Regions from separate parts of the Homo sapiens genome. Here all the other regions are linked to region 1. The links are contacts of gene promoters, found by promoter capture Hi-C in blood cells and fetal thymus (Javierre and others, 2016). All regions are on one chromosome and are shown on one strand. Each heading gives the region's core, a stretch centred on a gene start or on the middle of the fragment in contact. The rest is flanking DNA. Distances are from core to core; before and after follow the strand shown. Region 1 holds the start of NIFK (nucleolar protein interacting with the FHA domain of MKI67). Region 2 overlaps GYPC (glycophorin C (Gerbich blood group)). Region 3 overlaps DDX18 (DEAD-box helicase 18). Region 4 overlaps CCDC93 (CCC complex scaffolding subunit CCDC93). Region 5 holds the start of INSIG2 (insulin induced gene 2).

The links. Contacts are between HindIII fragments. The CHiCAGO score rates a contact against its expected background, and 5 or more counts as called.
Region 2: a contact is called between a fragment that was not itself captured here and the fragment with the promoter of NIFK in region 1, in 3 of 17 cell types (naive CD8 T cells, non-activated CD4 T cells and activated CD4 T cells). The highest score is 6.6, in naive CD8 T cells.
Region 3: a contact is called between a fragment that was not itself captured here and the fragment with the promoter of NIFK in region 1, in 2 of 17 cell types (non-activated CD4 T cells and total CD4 T cells). The highest score is 14.1, in non-activated CD4 T cells.
Region 4: a fragment that was not itself captured here is called in contact with the fragment with the promoter of NIFK in region 1 in 2 of 17 cell types (total CD4 T cells and naive CD4 T cells); the score reaches 5.7 in total CD4 T cells.
Region 5: a contact is called between the fragment with the promoter of INSIG2 here and the fragment with the promoter of NIFK in region 1, in 1 of 17 cell types (neutrophils). The highest score is 7.2, in neutrophils.

Annotation. Positions count from the first base shown.
Region 1 is chr2:121,735,157-121,738,941 of GRCh38, forward strand. NIFK (nucleolar protein interacting with the FHA domain of MKI67) reads right to left here and starts at 1,719. Exons shown (of 7, transcript NM_032390.5): 1 at 1,590-1,719; 2 at 457-594. The coding sequence starts at 1,694. RefSeq lists an enhancer at 1,606-1,655 and a silencer at 1,756-2,205. The HindIII fragment of the contact is 3,379 bases long and covers 1,419-3,785 here.
Region 2 is chr2:126,664,363-126,668,147 of GRCh38, forward strand. The region is part of intron 1 of GYPC (glycophorin C (Gerbich blood group)); the gene reads left to right. Among named protein-coding and RNA genes, the nearest start is that of GYPC, 10 kb to the left of the region's middle. RefSeq lists an enhancer at 180-339 and a silencer at 2,264-2,313. The HindIII fragment of the contact is 7,282 bases long and covers 1-3,785 here.
Region 3 is chr2:117,816,862-117,820,646 of GRCh38, forward strand. DDX18 (DEAD-box helicase 18) reads left to right here. Exons shown (of 14, transcript NM_006773.4): 2 at 583-867; 3 at 2,788-2,931. Among named protein-coding and RNA genes, the nearest start is that of DDX18, 4.1 kb to the left of the region's middle. RefSeq lists silencers at 3,723-3,772, 3,783-3,785. The HindIII fragment of the contact is 4,634 bases long and covers 1-3,785 here.
Region 4 is chr2:118,004,781-118,008,565 of GRCh38, forward strand. It overlaps CCDC93 (CCC complex scaffolding subunit CCDC93), which reads right to left. Exons shown (of 24, transcript NM_019044.5): 2 at 3,765-3,785; 3 at 1,942-2,036. Among named protein-coding and RNA genes, the nearest start is that of CCDC93, 7.4 kb to the right of the region's middle. The HindIII fragment of the contact is 2,915 bases long and covers 632-3,546 here.
Region 5 is chr2:118,086,714-118,090,498 of GRCh38, forward strand. It overlaps INSIG2 (insulin induced gene 2), which reads left to right and starts at 1,758. Exons shown (of 6, transcript NM_016133.4): 1 at 1,758-1,828. It overlaps LOC107985940 (a long non-coding RNA gene), which reads right to left and starts at 1,718. Exons shown (of 3, transcript XR_001739662.3): 1 at 1,538-1,718. RefSeq lists enhancers at 1,463-1,512, 1,523-1,712. The HindIII fragment of the contact is 7,859 bases long and covers 1-3,785 here.

The sequences.
Region 1 (3,785 bases), core at 469-2,968:
ACTCCCAGGAAGTTTTACTTATATTTAACAGATCACAACACTGAAACATGGTAAGGTCATATCACTCTAACTAGTAAGGTGTAGAGCCTGACCCCAAACCTCAGCAGTCCAACTCCAGAGTCCTCACCTTTAACTATTCACTATATAAACCTTTGCTATTATAAGGATGCTTGTACCAAAGGCTAACACAAGAAAATGTATAAACCTGGGCCTCATACTAAAGCTCATTTACCAGGACTGTCAATTTAATGTAAGGATTTGGAGAAATGTAAAAAACAAACTTTTACAATAATACTGATTTTGCTCCTGTAGCTGTTTCAGATTCTAAACCTCCTCCACTCTCCTTTTTGGAATGAAATCTGATAAGCAATAATGTATGCGTGAACGTGCTCTTTAATGTCAAGGATAATACACATTTGAAAAACAAAACATTAAATCCAACTGCAAAAATCTTACCCTTTTACTTCTGGACAGCCTGAACCGTGTCACAGTGCCAAACTGGGAGAAATATGAAAAGATCTGGGTTTCGTCAAGTAGGTTAGGTAGGTGGCGCACATAGACTACTCCAGGAGTAAGTTGTTCTTGTTTTTTTCGCTAAAGACGTAAAGACCAGGTAAATTAAATATATAAATAAGAAAATCACATTGTAACAAAACCCCTAGCCCTCGGCCCAAGAACCTATTCTGCATTTCCACTTACCACAGTAGTAATTAAAGAACTGGCTGTTTAGTGTTTCTCTCCCCACAAAGGCCATGGTCAAGCAGTAGTCAACTATCTTTCCAGCCTGGCATCCCAGCACCCAGTATAATATTAGAGCTCAATAACTATGTCAATCAACGGATAAGCAAGGACATCTTTGAACAAGCCATTTTAGATCTTCTGCCCAGAGAACTCTACATAAACGTAGGCTTCAATTTGGTATGCATATTACTGTTTACTCGCACTTCATCGAAAAATTTTCGATACGCTTGTTAACTCTCACGGTACAGATTAGCCTTTCAACGTCTCAGTCATCATAGCCTTACCTCTGTAACAGGAACTTCTAAGTTTTCCTGTGTATTTTATGCTAAAAACCACAGAAAGTATAAGCGATGTCAGGGGCCCTAGTCAGCAAGTGGAACCTGGCAAATACTCTATTTTAATAACTCCCAGATCACCAACCCGGCATACAAACTTCCCGAATGTGTTAAGTCTGGGGCTCCCATTTTTGGGGGAAACGCGGAAGCGTGACAGCTCTAACCCGGAGATAACCTGTGGTATAGGAGCCTATTCCCTCCAGCTGGTTCTTTCTACTGCTTCTGTCACCCCAATACTTCCCCGTTACCCTCCACATGAAGGCTCCAGGGCCTCAGCGGCCAAACCCCTCCATCATTTACCGAACAGCGTAAACCCTTTCGTCTCGGAAACCGTGGCCTGCAAGCTTAAGAGGTCGGTCCCTGATTCGGTCGAATCCACTTGGGAGACCCTGGAGGTAATGAAGGCGAGCACGAAGGCAAGGGGCGCCCGGGCCGGAAACCGTGCAACCCCAGATACCCTCTAGACCCGGTCCATCGCCCCCGCTCGCAGCCTGGGCCAGGGTGCCTGCTCACCTGGGTTATGCGCTTGCGAACCTGCGCCACCTCCTTTTGAAACTCGACATCTTCCTGCGGATTAAGCGACAGGATTGGCCCAGCCGGGCCAGAAAAAGTCGCCATGCCAAAAGCCGCCGACGCTAACCACGCGGCGCTCCCGGAAACGTCGGGCTCCCAGCTCCCCCGAGGCGGAAGTAGAGGCAGGACAGGGGCGGGGCGAAGCGCTAAGGCGAGGCGAGGCGTGGCGAGGGGCGGGGAGGGCCATGAGTCGGGCGCGGGGTTGGAGCAGGAGTTGCCCGGAGAAGCGGGGGCGGGGCACGGGGTGTGGCGAGGCGCGGGGCGGGGCATAAATTGCGCCAGGGGCGAGGGCGGGGCACGAGGTCGTGCCGAGAGACTGGGAGAGGCGTGAGTCGCGCGGAGGCGCGACATGGGGCGTGACGAGGAGCGGAGGGCGGGGCGTGAGTAGCGCCGAGGCGCGGAGGCGGGGCGCAGGGGCGTGCCGAGGCGCGGCAGCGGGGTCTGGGGCTGGGGCTGGGCCGTGGGGAGCTCCCGCACCCTCGGCTGTCGGGGCGCCGGCTGGCTTCGCTTAAGAGTGCCTGAAACAATTACGTTCACGCCTACTTTCAAAAAAGGTCTAAAATAAATTCCAAAACAGTACCTGTGTCCTTGAGATGCTGCTCTCATTCCTCAATTTGCTTATTATTATTATTATTTTTTTTTGAGACAGAGTTTCGCTTTGGTTGCCCAGGCTGGAGTGCAATGGCGCAATCTCGGCTCACTGCAACTTCCAACTTCCGCCTCCCGGGTTCAAGCGATTCTCCTGCCTCAGTCTTCCGAGTAGCTGATTACAGGCGCCCGCCACCACTCCCAGCTTAATTTGTACGTTACCACTCCCAGCTTAATTTGTATGTTTAGTAGAAACGGGGTTTCACCATGTTGGCCAGGCTGGTCTCGAACTCCTGACCTCAGGTGATCCACCCGCCTCAGCCTCCCAAAGTACTGGGATAACAGGCGTGAGCCACCGCGCCCGGCCCTAATTTGGTTATTCTTTCACTCACTTGTGTGTGAGCTCTCCTGTGTGGCCCCGTCCGTCCGCGGCCCTTGGAGAACTTACAGCCTGAGGGCAGCATGGCTGCTTTAAGAGACCAAAGAGGCTTGTGGGGGAGAGGCACACTGGGTGGCGCCGGAGGGTCCCCCTTAGGAGGTGGCGTTAGCACCGAGGCCTGAAGGCTAAAGAGCGGGGTGTGGAGAACCGAGCGCCTGCCGTCCGCTGGACCGGACAGGCCTGCACAGTGTTCCTAGGTCTAGAAAGAAGGACGCGGCAGTGGGGTTGGAGCCCAGCACAGGAGGGAAGAGCTGCGAGGCGGCAGGCTGGAGCCCCATGACTGTGTGTCAAAGTATGAAACTGGGGTTTTGTAAATGCGAGGGGATGGGCGGGTTTAAAGCGAGGCTGTGGCTGTTTGCATCTTTCTTTTCTTTTTTTTTTTTTGAGACGGAGTCTCGTTCTGTCGTCCAGGCTGGAGTGCAGTGGCGCGATTTTGGCTCACTCACTGCAACCTCCGCCTCCTGGGTTCAAGCAATTCTCCTTCCTCAGCCTCCCGACTAGCTGGGACTACAGGTGCACACCACTACTCCCGGCTAATTTTTGTATTTTTAGTAGAAACGAGGTTTCGCCATTTTGGCCAGGCTGGTCGAGAACCCCTGACCTTAAGTGATCTACCCGCCTCGGCCTCCCAAAGTGCTGGGATTACAGGCGTGAGCCACCGCACCCGGCCTGTTTGTACCTTTCAAATACTATTATACTAGTGAGTAACTGAGTGGAGAGGAAGGGTGGGGAGTGGATTGCCGAGGAAGCAGGGAGGTGAGGCGAGAGCGACAGATCAAGCACAGCTGGTGTCAGGGGATAGCTGCGGCCGTGTTCTGGAAGCCGTGAAGGCGGCCCAGGGTGTGTGTGCCCGAAGAGTGGCCTGTGGGCCTGAGGTGGAGGCCCTGGGAGGGAGTGCCAAGCGAGGCCAGCCCACTTCCTCTGACAGACGTGCCTCCCACGCTCACAGTCTTCGCCTCCTTCACCCCTGCACCCTCCGGCTCAGCGCCACCGTCACCCCCAAGGGGGCATCCCTGACCCTGTAGCAAAGTCAGTTCTTCCAGTTAAGCGCTGTCTTCCCATTGTGTTTTCATGGGTAGGCTGGATTTTCGGGAGTGAGCGAGCAAGAG
Region 2 (3,785 bases), core at 401-2,900, 4.9 Mb after region 1:
TCCATTTTGCATGTGATGATACCGAAACTAGCAAGTGGATGTGACTTCCAGAGAACCTACCAGCCCCTCACACCTCCTTCTCTTCCCCCTCTACATTGAAAGCTCAGCCAGGGCCTGACCCCAGACGCAGTGCTCAGAGACCACAGTGCTTCTAGAGGCCCACAACAGTATTAGAGCTTCTTTTAAAATCAGAAGGAAGGAAATGAACCTCTAAGATCAAATAGTACATTTGCCTTTATACCAGTGCAGCTATACAATATGATTTCTAATATTTGGGAGGAGAAGGGACCCATAAGGTAAAGCACCTTGGCCCATGGAAGTCACCCTGTGACCTGAGCTCAGCCCATTGGAGGTTGAGGGGCTGAAGCCCACTGCCTCTGCTCTCCCTGCCTGAATCTGCCCCTTGCTCCCAGGGCTCTGATCCTCCTCTACGTTGGCAGTCCTGGTTCCTTAGCAGTTCTGTCTGTCACGGGAGGACTCCCTGGGCTGGGCATCTGCAGGGGCAGCCTCTACCTCTCCCTGTGGGACTTCACTAACACAGCTGGAGTAGATGCTAGGGAGGCTCAGGTCATGCACTACTTGCTGTCTTTCTCTCTCTCTCTCTCTCTCTCTCTCTGTGTCTCTCTCATTTTCTGTCTCTATCTTTCTCTTACTCTTTTGGCCTTTTAAGTCAGAAGAATAGGCTACTCTTCACTTACAAGTTTAAAAATAAGTTGTCTTTGCCCTATTTCATTATTGCAGAAGCAATTCATGTTCATTGTAGAATTGTAGGAACAAGATCAAGAGGAAGGATGTAGGAAGAATCTCTATGGGGAAGAGGGTGACTTTGAGATACAATCTCTTGCCCTGATCTGAGCTTTCAGTTACCTAAGGTACAGTACAGTAAGATACTGAGAGAGAGAGAGAGACTAGTTCATATAACTTTTATAGAGTACGTTGTTACAATTGTTTTACTTCATTATTCATTGTTGTTAATATCTTACTGTGTCTAATTTATAAAATAAACTTTATCATAGTTATTCGCATATAGGAAAACTATCATGTATGTAAGGTTCAGTCGTATCTCTGGTTTCAGGCATCCGCTGGGGGTCTTGGAAAGCATCCCCCATAGGTAAGGGGGAACCACCGATTCATGGGACAGATAGATGATCACCCAGTGGCAGCTCGAAGGGAGATTAGGGCACAGATAAGGCTGGAGGACATCAGTGTAAAGAGGCCACCCTGTGAGGGGCCCAGAAGGGAGCCCTGGAGACCCTCTGGGTGCATTGATCACCTCAGATGGGGGCCCAAGGGATGCCGACGCAGGGCAAAGCACTACAGCAGACTCGGCACAGGTGCCTGGGGCTGTGCACGCCCTGGCAAGCGCCCACTCTGCCCTGCTCCGCACCTAGTGAGGACGTGTAACACACACAGTGCCTCCTTTAATGCTGAAGGCATCACACAGATGCAGATATTATTAATTCCAGTTTAGGAAGACAAAAAGTGAGGCTCAAAGAGGTGATTTCCCCAGTGCTTCCCTGTGCATCACTGACACGCTCTCTCCTGGAAGCCAGGTGTGTCTTCCTCCAGCTCTGGGACTCTGCAGCCTGCCCTGCTGGGAGGGGGCTGCCCATGACCCCTTGCCCTTCTGCTCAGATCGTTACAGCCCTGAGGTCGCTCTCCTGGCCTCTGAAGAAAAGGCCTTTCTTTGTTCCCCCCACACCCGGAACCACTTGTGTTCCCTCTGCCGTCCTCCGCAGGCACCCACCTGTGTCCCAGCAGCTGCGAATGCAGTGCTCAGAGTGGTACACAAGGGCTGGGTTGTGACAGTCCTGCCAGCCCAGGCCAACCCACTCTTCCCCCGGGGAAGGAGTGGGCAGCTGCCTCCCAAGGTCACTACAGGGGCACTGGGAGAGAATAATGCCCCCACCAACTCCTGGCCAATTCCTGGAATGCCTCCACCGTGGAACCACCCCTGGGCTGGCAACTTTATTCTGTGTTAAAGTACAACAAGCCAGCCGGAGGATCATTGTCACTGCATGACTGCAATTTCTGTTACACTTTGCTAGGCACTTTCAAATCTGTTTCCACTCTTCATTCGAGACATACTAGTCTCCCTCTTTTGCAGGTAAATAAAGCAGACCTCAGGAAAGTTCAGTGACTTGGCAGAATTTACACAACCAGGTTGCAATAGAGGAGCCAGACTGGACCAGTCCTCGGTCCCTGTCTCCTTTGTGAGTGTACTGTTCAGGCCACTGAAACTCATTCATCATTCTTAAGTGGGAGGGGCTGAGGCTGAAGAGTCATTGCAAGTAAGAAACTGTGATGCTGGCCTTCCATTCTCCTGCCCCCCTCCCCTCCCTCCCTACACACACACACACACACACACACACACACACACACACACACACACACATATGCACGCACACACACAAGCACACACACATTTCTTCCTACACACCATCTCCTTGCGTTTCTTAGCAGCAGACAGGTATCAGCCCCAGACCTGAGGCAGACACTTGGGGATCTGGTTCGGGACAGGGCAGACAGGCATTTGGTGCATGGATCCTACTGACCTCCCAGAGATAACTAGAAACAAATGTAAGAACTGCTGCCTACAACATCTTTTGGCCTTGGGTGTTAGGTGCCACATGCTTTTGAAACTTTTTCTACTCCACTATTTTTAGGACTCTGTTCCCACTTCTTTGCTCAGTGTAGAGCATCTGCCATGTAGAATATCTCCTCATAGCCTCTTCTGTCTGCTTGTCACTCAAGGTCATTGTAGCCATCAGACCCCACCTAGCAGACAGAGGATTTAGAGACAGAGGATTTAGAGATACGTGGATTTAGAGAATTCAGCAAGGCTGTTTTGCTTATTTTTGGTTTGGGTTCAGCACTAAGTCTCCCATACCCTTCTGCAATGAATCCCTCTGGAGTGTATCAGTAAAGAAAACAGAAACAACCTTCCCCAATCATACCCCAGCAGTTAAATATTTGGGTCAGTTTCCAGACATGACTCCTACATGCATTGCCTATCACATGATCTGGATATCTTTTTTTTTTCTTTTTTTTTTTTTTGGAGATGGAGTCTCGCTCTTGTTGCACAGGCTGGGGTGCAGTGGCATGATATCGGCTCACCACAACCTCTTCCTCCCAGGTTCAAGCAATTCTCCTGCCTTAGCCTCCCGAGTAGCTGGGATTACAGGCATGCACCACCACGCCTGGCTAATTTTATATTTTTAGTAGAGACGGGGTTTCTCCATGTTGGTCAGGCTGGTCTCAAACTCCCGACCTCAGGTGATCCGCCCGCCTTGGCCTCCCAAAGTGCTGGGATTACAGGCATGAGCCACCACGCCTGGCCTGTGGAGTCCTTTTCTAAGTTCCAAGTCTGCAGGGACCTCTTGTGTAGCAGGTGACCTGAGCCCTGAGCCTTGAACTTTTCATCCACTTATAGTGAATACAGTCAAGAGCCCCACCATTCAGATCATCCCAGTCCAATCTGATGCATTTGATTTTAATCCAGGGAGTCCCTACTGCATGCAAGGTGCTGCACAGGAGACATAAAGGGACAAAGACCATATCTTCAAAGGGGCTTCAGCCTAGTAAGGAAGGGGAGATCCAGGAGCATCAGAAAACAGAATAAGTCAAAAAGCTGATTAGAGACACGTGGCCCAGCAGACTGCTTGCTGCACCTGGCTCAGACACAGGTAACAGTGCCAGGCTGCTTTGAGATTAAGGCCACATCTTCCTGAACTTTCAAAAGAAGGGGTTCTTCACCTGGGATCCCCACCCTAAAAGTCACACAC
Region 3 (3,785 bases), core at 640-3,139, 3.9 Mb before region 1:
ATCTTATGGAGCCACTGTATATGTTGTCCTTAATTCACAGAAATGTCATTGTGCACGCATTACTGTATTTGCATATGATAAATATTGGAGCAAATAAGTGGTCTTATCAACTGAATTTTCAACTCACTGCAGTCTAGAAGAGTTGGGGTTGAATGTTTTGAAGTGGTATGAAAAATAGTACTTGTGTGAATGAGTTGTAAATGTCTTTTTCAATATATCAGTTAATCATATGTTTATCAAATACTTATGTTTATTCTGTAACTGCCATTATCTGACCTCATCTGTTTAAATATTTGACCTCATTGAAGTTTTCCTGTCCTAGACTCCTTAAAGTCAGATGTACGGTCTTTTGCAGTTAAGAAATCAATATAGCTTTCCCTTTTCCAGTATTTTTTCTTTAAGATAACTTACTTTCCCTATAAGGGAACACCATAAAACTATAAGTTGTTTTAATTACATGAAAGAGAAGAAAATCTAAATAATTTGTGTCAGGAAGCCATGGAAGTTCTCATTTGGGATTTCAGTGTTTCTAAGTAAACTTCTCCTTCTTTGTCACAGTATATGTTCTGTTTATTTAAACAGGGGCCTCAAATCTGACCCTATCGGAAACTCAAAATGGAGATGTATCTGAAGAAACAATGGGAAGTAGAAAGGTTAAAAAATCAAAACAAAAGCCCATGAATGTGGGCTTATCAGAAACTCAAAATGGAGGCATGTCTCAAGAAGCAGTGGGAAATATAAAAGTTACAAAGTCTCCCCAGAAATCCACTGTATTAACCAATGGAGAAGCAGCAATGCAGTCTTCCAATTCAGAATCAAAAAAGAAAAAGAAGAAAAAGAGAAAAATGGTGAATGATGCTGAGCCTGGTAGGTATTTATTATCTTTGAACTTCAGCCATTTAGTTTTTCACAGACGGTTATTGTTCCTCTTTCTATTACTATTGTGTGCACATGACATGAGAATTCCCTGTACTCACCAGTATGTTAGAGATTAGCCTGGTAGCTAATGGAAACATTTTATTGGCAGAAGCGGGGAGTCCATTTCAACTTTTCTCAAAATATTGAGGAATATATTTTTAATTTCACTAACCTTGAAGAAAACCTCTCTCAGAAAAGACTCTCCTTAGAATTCTAGAAATTTTCTCTTCTTTTTAAGTTACCTTTTTTCCTGCTTGATTCTTCCCATTTTCCTTCCATAAATTCCTCCCTTTGAAAGGAATATTAGTTACAAAGTATATAAAGTAGGAAACTTCTGAATAAATGGAACATTAATTTCCAAGTGCTAAGAATGGCAGGAGGAAAAGGAAGGAATGTTTTTTGAAGATGATGGAATTTCAGTAAGCTCGGATGAAAGAATGGACATTATAATTGAGATTTGTATAAGCAGAGATATCAAGGTAGGATAAGATAGGGGTCAGCAAACTATCCCTCCTTCTACCTGTTTTTGTAAATAAAGTTTTACTGGGTCATAGCAATGCCTATTTGGTTGTGTTTATGGCAACAGAGATCATATGACCTGCAAAGCCTAAACTATTTACTATCTGGCCCTTTGCGGAAAGTTTGCCAGCCCCTGAGTTGGAACATCCTATTCATGTATTTTACCTGAAATAAGGGTTTTATTTAGAAAGGGACTTTGAACTTTTCCAAACATGCATTACTGTCTTCATGATGCCTACACACAGAAGTCATTGTAATCCTGTTCTAAAATTATTGCCTTCACAATTCTTGTTTTGAGTATGCCCCAGGAAGTGGTATTATTTCTGCTCCCAAGCATTGAATCACAATGCTGGGCGTTTTAACCTTATGGGTTTTTTGTTTGTTTGTTTGTTTGTTTGTTTTATTATGAGATGGGGTCTCACTGTGTTGTCCAAGCTGGTCTTGAACTCCTGGGCTCAAGTGATCCTCCCACCTCGGCTTCCCAAAGTGCTGGGATTACAGGCAGAAGCCACCACACCCAACCACCTTATGGGTACATTTTAGGAACTATTCCAGGGAAAACAAAATAAGCCATGGAGACCAGCTGAAGATATCTGTGGCTTTTGAACATGTAGGTCCTACAAAGTTGACTCTTTCCTGGAAGGGTGGCCGTCAGGTACAGGGAGGAGACCAGTACTGAGCTACAGAGAGTCCTGGGTTGTGGTCTAAGTTCTTTTCAAACATCACTAATTGCCATATAGTTTTATATAAACACAGCATGTGGTTAATCCATTTGACCCAGAGTCGAACATTGAAAAGAGAAGTGAGAGGTAGGACTGAAAAGGTAGTTGGGGCCACATGAAAGTTGTGAATGTAGAAATGAGGGTGGGAAGAAGCCCTGCCTTTCCTCCCACCCTCATCCCTGATAGCCAAGGCACAGTCCAGTGTATGTCAGCCAGGCAAGTGGGTTGTTGCCCTTCCTTTACAGTCTATCTCTAGTAACATGAAGAGCCTTTGATAGTGATTGGCGTGGGAAGAAAAATGACTACTTATAATGAGTTTTTAAGGATTATGTTAATCAGGTATGCTTCCTTTCCCCTCAGTGGAGTATGTGAAACTTATAATTGGTATGTTTATACTGTTTAGTTGAACAAAAGCCTAAAAGGTTTTGTCACCAAGTCTGTCTGTACCCTGGGTTTTTAAATACAACCACTCATTTTTCACCAAACAGAATTCTTAACAAATTAATACAGCATATACTTAGCTTTTGAAAATATACGTCTTTATATCAGAGATCTTCTGTTTGTTGATCTCATTTGGAATTCTATTTTAAGGAAAAATTTTTTCGGATTTTGTCTTTTAAAACCAAAGATACGAAAAAAGCAAAAACTGAAAACAAAGGGAAATCTGAAGAAGAAAGTGCCGAGACTACTAAAGAAACAGAAAATAATGTGGAGAAGCCAGATAATGATGAAGATGAGAGTGAGGTGCCCAGTCTGCCCCTGGGACTGACAGGTAACGTCCAGGAAGTTTTCTAGAGGTAACTTCTTTAAAATGTGCCTCTCTTAGAGGATTATAGGTTTGAAGGTTCAGTTGTGACTTTCAGTTTACCTGAAAAAAGTAACTATCAACAAGAAACTTTTTTTATATCTTTCTGCTGCTTTTTCTCTTTATCTTCTATTTTGTGGTGTTTTAGTTCTTTTTGTTCCCTGTTTTTTTCCTTTTGTTCATTCCTGACACCAAATATTTTATATGCACACTAGCAGCTTCTAGGATTCCTTGGTTTGTCCTTTTCTGAGTCTCATTCTATGTTGTAATAGGAAAATGATTGGCCCTGTACGAGGTTAACCTCCTTTGGCCTTTGTTCCTTTATAAAGTTGAGTTTAGGCTAGAATTCACTGCTCCTAACCAGATATGTCTAGGAGTTACTTGAGTTGTTTATTTGGTTTGGGTTGGTTGGTTTGTTAAAATGTTGAGGCCCAACCCTAGACCTGCTTAATCCAAATTGCAAACGTTTTGGTAGTAGCTCTCGAGCAGGGAAATTCGCCCCCCGAGTAAGAAGAGTAACTCTTCCTGGTTTGCCCAGAACTTTAACAGTTTTAGCACTGAAAGTTCTGAATCCCAAGAATCTCCTCTGTCCCTAGCCTACTGAGAAGATTGGTCATCCTAAGCCTAGGAGACATTTTTGGTTCTCAGAGCTAGGAGCAGTCTGCTGGGATCTGGTGAGTAGAGGTCAGAAACACTGCATAATATCTTATAAGGCACAGGATAGTGTTTCACAGCAAAGAATTATTCAGCCCAGATGTCAGCAATGCCAAGGTCAAGAGTGATTGGTTTACACCCTGGGCATGTGGAGTATGGGGAACCCC
Region 4 (3,785 bases), core at 839-3,338, 3.7 Mb before region 1:
TGCACTTAAGAGACACACATCAAGCACTTACCAGGGAATATAACACATCCTCAATCCCTTATCCAAACCCTTTGGGTCAGATGTGTTTCAGAATTCTGAATTTTTTAGATTTAGTTCCTTAGAATACCTAAGGGATACATATTATATATTATGTAAGAACCCAGGAAAATCTAGAGTCACACTCTATAATAAAAAAAAATTTATTTAGCAAAACTTATAAATAGTCACATAAGTGGGATCAATAAAGCTATAAATTCAGTCAATTCAGGTTATGTTTTGCTCCCAAATAAGCTTTGTATCTAAACCTAAAAGAAGAAAAAACAGTTTTCAGTGTCTTTTAGATTTCAGAAATATAGACAAGGAATTGAGAAGACATAGAAAAATACTGTGTTCCCATATCTATTAAAAGTATAATGGAATGCTGCCACTGATGGGAGTCTACCATATTCCCTAAGGATATCGAAATGAAAACAGGGCCTAACGACCACTGGAAAACTCAAGGGGAATTTAGGAAAAAAGCACACGTGGGATCCAAGAAATGGTAAAACTAGCACAGAAAAAATGCAATGAAAAGAAATACCAGCACATCAAGAGTGCCACAGGTATAGGAAGCAATCAGCTCAAAGACAGAAGCTTCCAAGAAAAGCATCCTCAAGAAGACAAAGAATTCATGCTAATGAACAGCCTGATTAAGAAGCATAGGCCAGGTGCGGTGGCTCACACCTCTAATCCCAGGAGGCCAAGGCGAGAGGATTGCCTGAGCCCAGGAGTTTTAAGACCAGCCTGGACAAGATGGTGAGACACCATCCCTACAAAAAATTTAAAAATTAGCTGGGCGTGGTGGTGTATGCCTGTGGCTCTAGCTACACAGGAAGCTGAGGTAAGAGGATCACTTAAGGAAGTCGAGGCTGCAGTGAGTGGTGTTGGCACCACTGCACTCCAGCATGGGTGATAAGAGTGAGACTCTGTCTCAAAAAAAAAAAAAAAGCTGGCTGATCTGAGCTACAGCTAAAGGCATATGCTTCTTTTGTCAACAAGAAAAAAACAAAGGCAATTAGAAACTTACAGGGAAAATGCTGTATAAATATAAAGTAAATTGCAACATTCCTGATGCTCAGTTACTCACAGATACCACCTCCACTTGGCTGCCAGAAACACAGGGGCAAATCTTTGGCCAACAGTAGGAAAACAAAGCATTTTGTGACCCATCACTGTGGCAGTCTTACCCCAACTCTGCCTTTTGTCCCCACTTTTTTTTCCCCCTTTGCTCCATTTTCCCACCATTATTGCTTCCTGTTATTTATAAGACCCCTTTGTTCCTTTTGGAAGTGTTTTCTCTTGGGAGAAGGTAATACTTCAGAAAAATGAATAAACAGACTGTCACAGAATCACACATATCTGAGGTCAGGAATCTCTCTTCTGACGGATAAAAGAACTGAGGCCCACAGAAGGAGTGGCTGTTCCAAGGCCACACAGAGACCCACTGGAAGGCTGGGAGAAGAACCAGGTATCCCAAGTGGTCTAATGAAATGGCCAAGCCCCTGGTGAGCTGCTGTGCTACAAAAGACTGGGCAGGGTATGCTCAGGTGAGATCTCTAGCAAGGAGACCATGCTGCTTTCTCTCGAAGACAGGCAAAGTGAGACTCTGCCTTACACAGAGGCAATGGGGAAGGAAAGCATCTCCTTTCCTCTTTCTAATCAACTTCCACTGATATGAGCTGTCTTTGAAAGATAAACTAAGTAGTCACTACAAACTTTGATCTAGCTGTGTGACCTTGGCTTCTTTCAGTCTCAGTTTCATTTGTAAGGCAGGGATAATACCTCTTGTAATAAAAGTTAAAATAAACTATGTAAAGTGTCCAACCAACTTCTGGCACACAGTAGACACTCAAAAGTTAGTTCCCTTCTCCCCACCTTTAGGTTTTCCATAGAAAAACTTACATTTTTTGACCTATCGTAGAGTTTTCTTGAAAGAGCAAATCAACATCTACATCAAAGTTGCAAGTGGTGATACACCAAGTCATTCCTCCTACTACCTGCAAGACATAAAGAAAATATTTGTTTTCTCTTTTTAGTTTGGGGAGAATGGAAGAAGTGGAAGGTAGATGGATTATAAATAGCTCTAATAGACTCAGTAAACATACAAAATTATATATCTTGAGAGAGAGAGTGTGTGTCCTCCTTACCCCATCAAGTACAATTAATCTAAAATGGCACCGTTACAGAAAACTTTCTGCAGTGACAGAAATATTCCGTTATCTGCAAGGACAAGTACAGTAGCTACTAGCCACATGTGGCTGCTGAGCAGTTGAAATGTGGCTGGCATGACTGAGGAGCTGACTTTTATTATTAAATGAACATACTGTACATAGATCCTCTTTATAGTCAAAAGGACAGACATTAATTCTGTGTTTTATAGACCAGACACATGGGCAGCAAGGCTGACATTTTGTTTCCATACATCTTATTTTTCTTATCTACCTGAGAATCCCTGGCTCTACTTTTCCCTCAGGAATTCTCTGAGATGCAAATGAGAGTAAGACTAAAAACCCATTTTGAAACAAAATCCTTTTCAGACACAGCTTGATATTAGAAAAAAATAACAATAAGGCTGGGCGCGGTGGCTCACGCCTGTAATCCCAGCACTTTGGGAGGCTGAGGCGGGTGGATCACGAGGTCAGGAGTTTGAGACCAGCCTGGCCAACGCAGTGAAACCCCTCTCTACTAAAGATGCAAAAATTAGTCGGGCATGGTGGCAGGCACCTGTAATCCCAGCTACTCGGGAGGCTGAGGCAGGAGAATCACTTGCATCCCGGAGGCAGAGGTTGCAGTGAGCCAAGATTGAGCCATTGCACTCCAGCCTGGGCAGCAGAGAGACTCCATCTCAAACAAACAAACAAACAACAACAACAAAAACAGTAAATCTTACCCCTGGCTGCTTTAGACTCTTACAAGTTGCCCAATAAAAATGCAGATTCCAGGGCCCAAGCCCAGACCTAGCTAACCAAAATTTCAATGAGTGAATCCTGGGTTCTGTATTATAAAATAACCCAGAGTGATTCTGTTAGGCACAGCCAGGACTGTGACCCCGTGGAGCACTCAGCACTGTCTTCCACAGCCTGCCCTGTGTGATTTGAATGCGTCCTTTCTGTGCACAGTCCACGGTGGCACTTTCTGCATCATGCCATTTATTCTGTGCATGTTGATTCACTTGTCTCTCATCCCCACTCTACAGAAATTGGGCTCTTTGAGAACTGTGCCTCTGTTTTTTCTCTGTGTCCTCAACACCTATTACTATGATTTGTGCATCATCATTCAAGGTTCTGCTGAATTAAAAGATTTCATTGCATAGCGATCTCTCTCTCATCCTAAATCAGAGCATTTACTATCCGCAGAATATCTGGCAACCGTCTGTGAGCACGCTGACTTGGGATAGCTCATTATTAACTCTGATTATTTTATTTTCCATAAGTTTTATAATCCCCACCCAAACTGTAAATTCCTTGAAAGAAGGAACTATTTATTTTGCTTCTTTGCATTTCCTAAAGCTTTGTGCACAGAAAAGGAACTGACGTATTCACTGATACATCATTTCTGTCTTTGAAAAGAAGTTTGAACACTTCCATAATGAATCTGAATTAGGAAGAAATGGAAACACAGACATGGAAGAAGTTAAAACATCATCTTTTCCTCCTTTCTTTGCCATGATTAACCATGTCATTCTGACAAAAGATAGTGTAATGGTTAGAAAGATTTCCCCTTACCTTGTCAAAGGGTGATAAGCC
Region 5 (3,785 bases), core at 508-3,007, 3.6 Mb before region 1:
TACAATGTTCCATAAGGATTTTCTTGAAGGCAATTTCTAAGTGTCTGAAAAAAGCTCGGTTGGAGTAGACATGAACTGGACATACAGGACTTGTATTGCTTTAAGGAAATACATGATGTCAGAACATTTTCAAATTATTGTCTCTTTTCTGAATGCTTTCTCTATTCTTTTAAAAATCATCGTCCATTCTGTATAATTGGCCCAGATCTTTCTTACTGGTAGTGTAAAAACTTACAGGAGTGAAATTTGAAAGCTACAGAAAACATTAGAGAAAACACTAAGATATAGGAAATGTTAGAGAAGCATCATGCAAATACTTGCCTAGAAACATTTTGTTGGAATTCAGATTCTTTTTCAATTTTCAGAAGTAAATGTAGATAAAAAGGTCAAAAAACAAAAATCCATCTTATCGTTTATCAGTTCAAAGTAAATGAAAGGAGTTTACCATCTGACAGTCCTTTGGAAAACTATTATGCAATTACTCTCGGCCCAGATTTCATCTAGAACATTCAAGTCCATTGTAATCTTACCACATCCATACACGTTTTGGGTTAAGCCACCTCCAAATGGAATAGCTCAATAACTAATACACTCAAGAGAGATTATTTTTTCTCTCTTTTTAAAAAGAGTTGCTTAAAAAAAACAAATTCAGGGGGCAGCTCACGCCTGTAATCCCAGCACTTTGGGAGGATGAGGCGGGCGAATCACGAGGTCAGGAGTTTGAGACCAGCCTGGCCAATATGATGAAACTCCATCTCTACTAAAAATACAAAAAGTAGGCAGACATGGTGGCATGTACCTGTAGTCCCAGCTACTGGGGAGGCTGAGGCAGAAGAATCACTTGAACCCGGGAGGCAGAGGTTGCAGTGAGCCGAGATCATGCCAGTGCACTCCAGCCTGGGTGACAGAGAGAGACTCCGTCTCAAATAAATAAATAAATAAAAATAAATAAAAATTCAGAATAGGGAAGCAACTCCTCCTTATGACGAGTACCTTTCGGCACTTATATGGGCTTGCTTTTGCATTGATGGCACCACTTTCATTCAAAAAAAAAAGTTCGCTTGCACAATCTGCAAAGATCTGTTTGGCTTGGTTTCATGTTCTAAAAGTATGGTTTTAGATTAAATGAAAAATAATACTTCTGAAAAATAAGCGGTTATAAGGTTTTTAAGTTTTCTTTATGTTGGTGTAAACTTATAAAGCCCTTCCTATGAAAACTGTCCCCCAAATCACATTACTTGGTCGTCCTCGAGGAACGATTTTGAATGAAAAGCACATAAAGTGCTGTAGCATGGAGACGAGAGACAAATAACTATGCCCTTCTCCCAAAATAAGTTATGACTTACTAGGGGAGGAAAAGGAGCAAAGAGTATAAAGCCCGGTCCTCTGCGGGAAGTACCCGGAGGCCTGCCCCGGAACGCGCTCCTTTCGGCTACGAGATGAGGGGCACGCAGACGGACGCGCCCCTCGGTGAGTGTGCGTGTATCAGTGCATGATTCCTTTACTCCGCCCACAGGGTCTGGGCATCCGTCATTACCTACGGCTGCCTGGTCAGCAAACAACAGCAGATCCGACAACCGCCAGTCACCTCGACGGTCCACGCCCACCGCTAGCCTCCAGTTTCCCGCAGACCGGAAGCCCTTTTGCCCCGGCTCGCAGGTCCACGTCTTATTGACAGCAGGAACCGGAAGCTCTTCTGCCCCGATCGCCTGCGCGCGGCCTCGTTGGCCGCACAGGCGCAGTGGAGCTCGGGCGGAGTTGTGGGAGTGGAGGAGGAAGAGGCGGTAGGGGGTACGGGGGCTGGTCCCAGAAGATGGCGGAGGCGGGGGTGAGTTGGGGGTCTCCCGGCGAAGCGCGGGTGACGTGGTGCTGAGGAAAGCGGCCTGAGGAGGAGGGTGGCCCTTGGGAAGAAGAACTACTTGTGTTTTTGCAGCCTGGGAACCCTGGTGGCAGGTGCGGGGAGCCAGGACCACTGATGGGCCTGCAGGGCAAGGGGCTCCGCTTACCTGAGAGGGGTCCGCAAGGTCCAGAAGGGGACTGCGGGATCGGGGAGGGGGTATAGGAGGGGTCGAGGCTCCCCGGACAGTGGATGAGTGTCTGAGCGGGAAGAAGGCTGGAGGACGGCGAGAAGGGCGACCCAATGGTCTGATGAGGTGGAGGTCAGCGAGCTGTCAAGCATAGAGCTGCCAGGACTTGGGGGCTTGTAGCCTGGGAGAGAAGACTCAGACTTGGGCGGGGATTGGATCCAAAGAAGACAGGTTGTCGTAGTAAGTTTATAATCCACTAAGGAGATAGGGCATTGGGTTGAGGAGTAATACTCTGGCATTTTTGACTGGAATTGGTTACCTATGGAATAGGTGTTTCGGTAAAGCCAAATAATTCTTGCCAGGGCCTAGAAGTGGATTTGATGATAATTACTAGATTTTAGGGTTGCTTAGTGGGGATTGGCAATATGGAGAAGGAAAGCAGTGTGGATTATGGGAGTGGGCGCGGGCAATGGCGCTAACACTTAAGTGATAATGACCCATGTCCAGTTAACGTTGGAAAAAGTTGTTAAAGTATGATATTAGCTAGATGCTCTAGGAAAATATACCATGAAGAACTTGCTGTTTTGTAGGATTGATGAAGAAATGCTTTAAAAAGGAATGGTTAGGCTTGGCAGCTGGGCCACTGAAACTGTTTGGTATCAGTATTGCGGTGGAGCTGAGGACTGCAGGGGAATGCGTGCTCCCGTCCTGGTGCAGAAAAAATAAAAGCAGCCAGACAGTAGCTAGATGGTGTTTTGTAACTTTTGGGTTTGGCCCTGATAGTGAACCACTGAATGAAGATGGATGAAGGGAATGCTACTAATGGGGGCCCCAAAGAAAACAAAAATCAGACGTGTGCTCTTCCTGTTTTCTGTCTTTCATTCTTTCCCTGTACTTTGTGCTCAGTACTGTGTTTTGTCATTGTGTTATGTCGTAGTTCTCAGTTCACATCTGCTGTACAGTGACCAAGCTGTGAATCATGTCCACTCGGGAAAGAGGTTGATTCTGTTTAACTGACAACTGTTGCTTTTGCAGATGGTCACACGGAAAAGGAAAGAATAAAATGCAGTTCAGTAGTTTAAAGAGTTTTCTTTGTTCTCAGAAACTTATCTCGAAACGATGGAGTAACTTTTTTAGGCACTGAGATGTGACATTTAAAACCTGTAAGGGGCTGTAAATGCAGCTAACTTACTGGTTTCTATGTTTGGGTTTTAATGTTGAGAGGAAAGAGTTGCAGTGTTTATAAGGCAAATATTGCTTTTCTTCCTAGAAATTTTTAACGTCTCTAGCCCATGATACATGTAGATGTGTTTTTATTTAGGGAGCATTAAACTGTTGCATTGATTTAAGTCTGTTTTTTTCTAATGTTAGTGCTTATTCTATTTCAAGAATGCTATTCTAATTAAGAGAGCATATGATGAAAAATATGTGAGGTAGTAATTTAACTTTATTATTTAGTAGCTTACGTGACCTAAGCACCTGAAGAAACAGGGTTATCTGAGGGAGTAAAAATACTTCTTTTACGGCTAATCATTGGAAGAGGAATGGTCTTGTCATTTGGTTTTAGGGGGTGTTGCAGTTGTTACAATGCAACAGGTTCTTAAGGTTACTAGAAGATTTTGTATGTGTGTTTGTTTTCAAATGCTTGTTGCCTCTAAGTTGTTTCAGTGGCCAACATGAACCTTGATTTTTATTCACGAAGCTCATAATCACTTATAACTCTTTTTTAACCTGAAAGTAATAATATCAATCCATTAA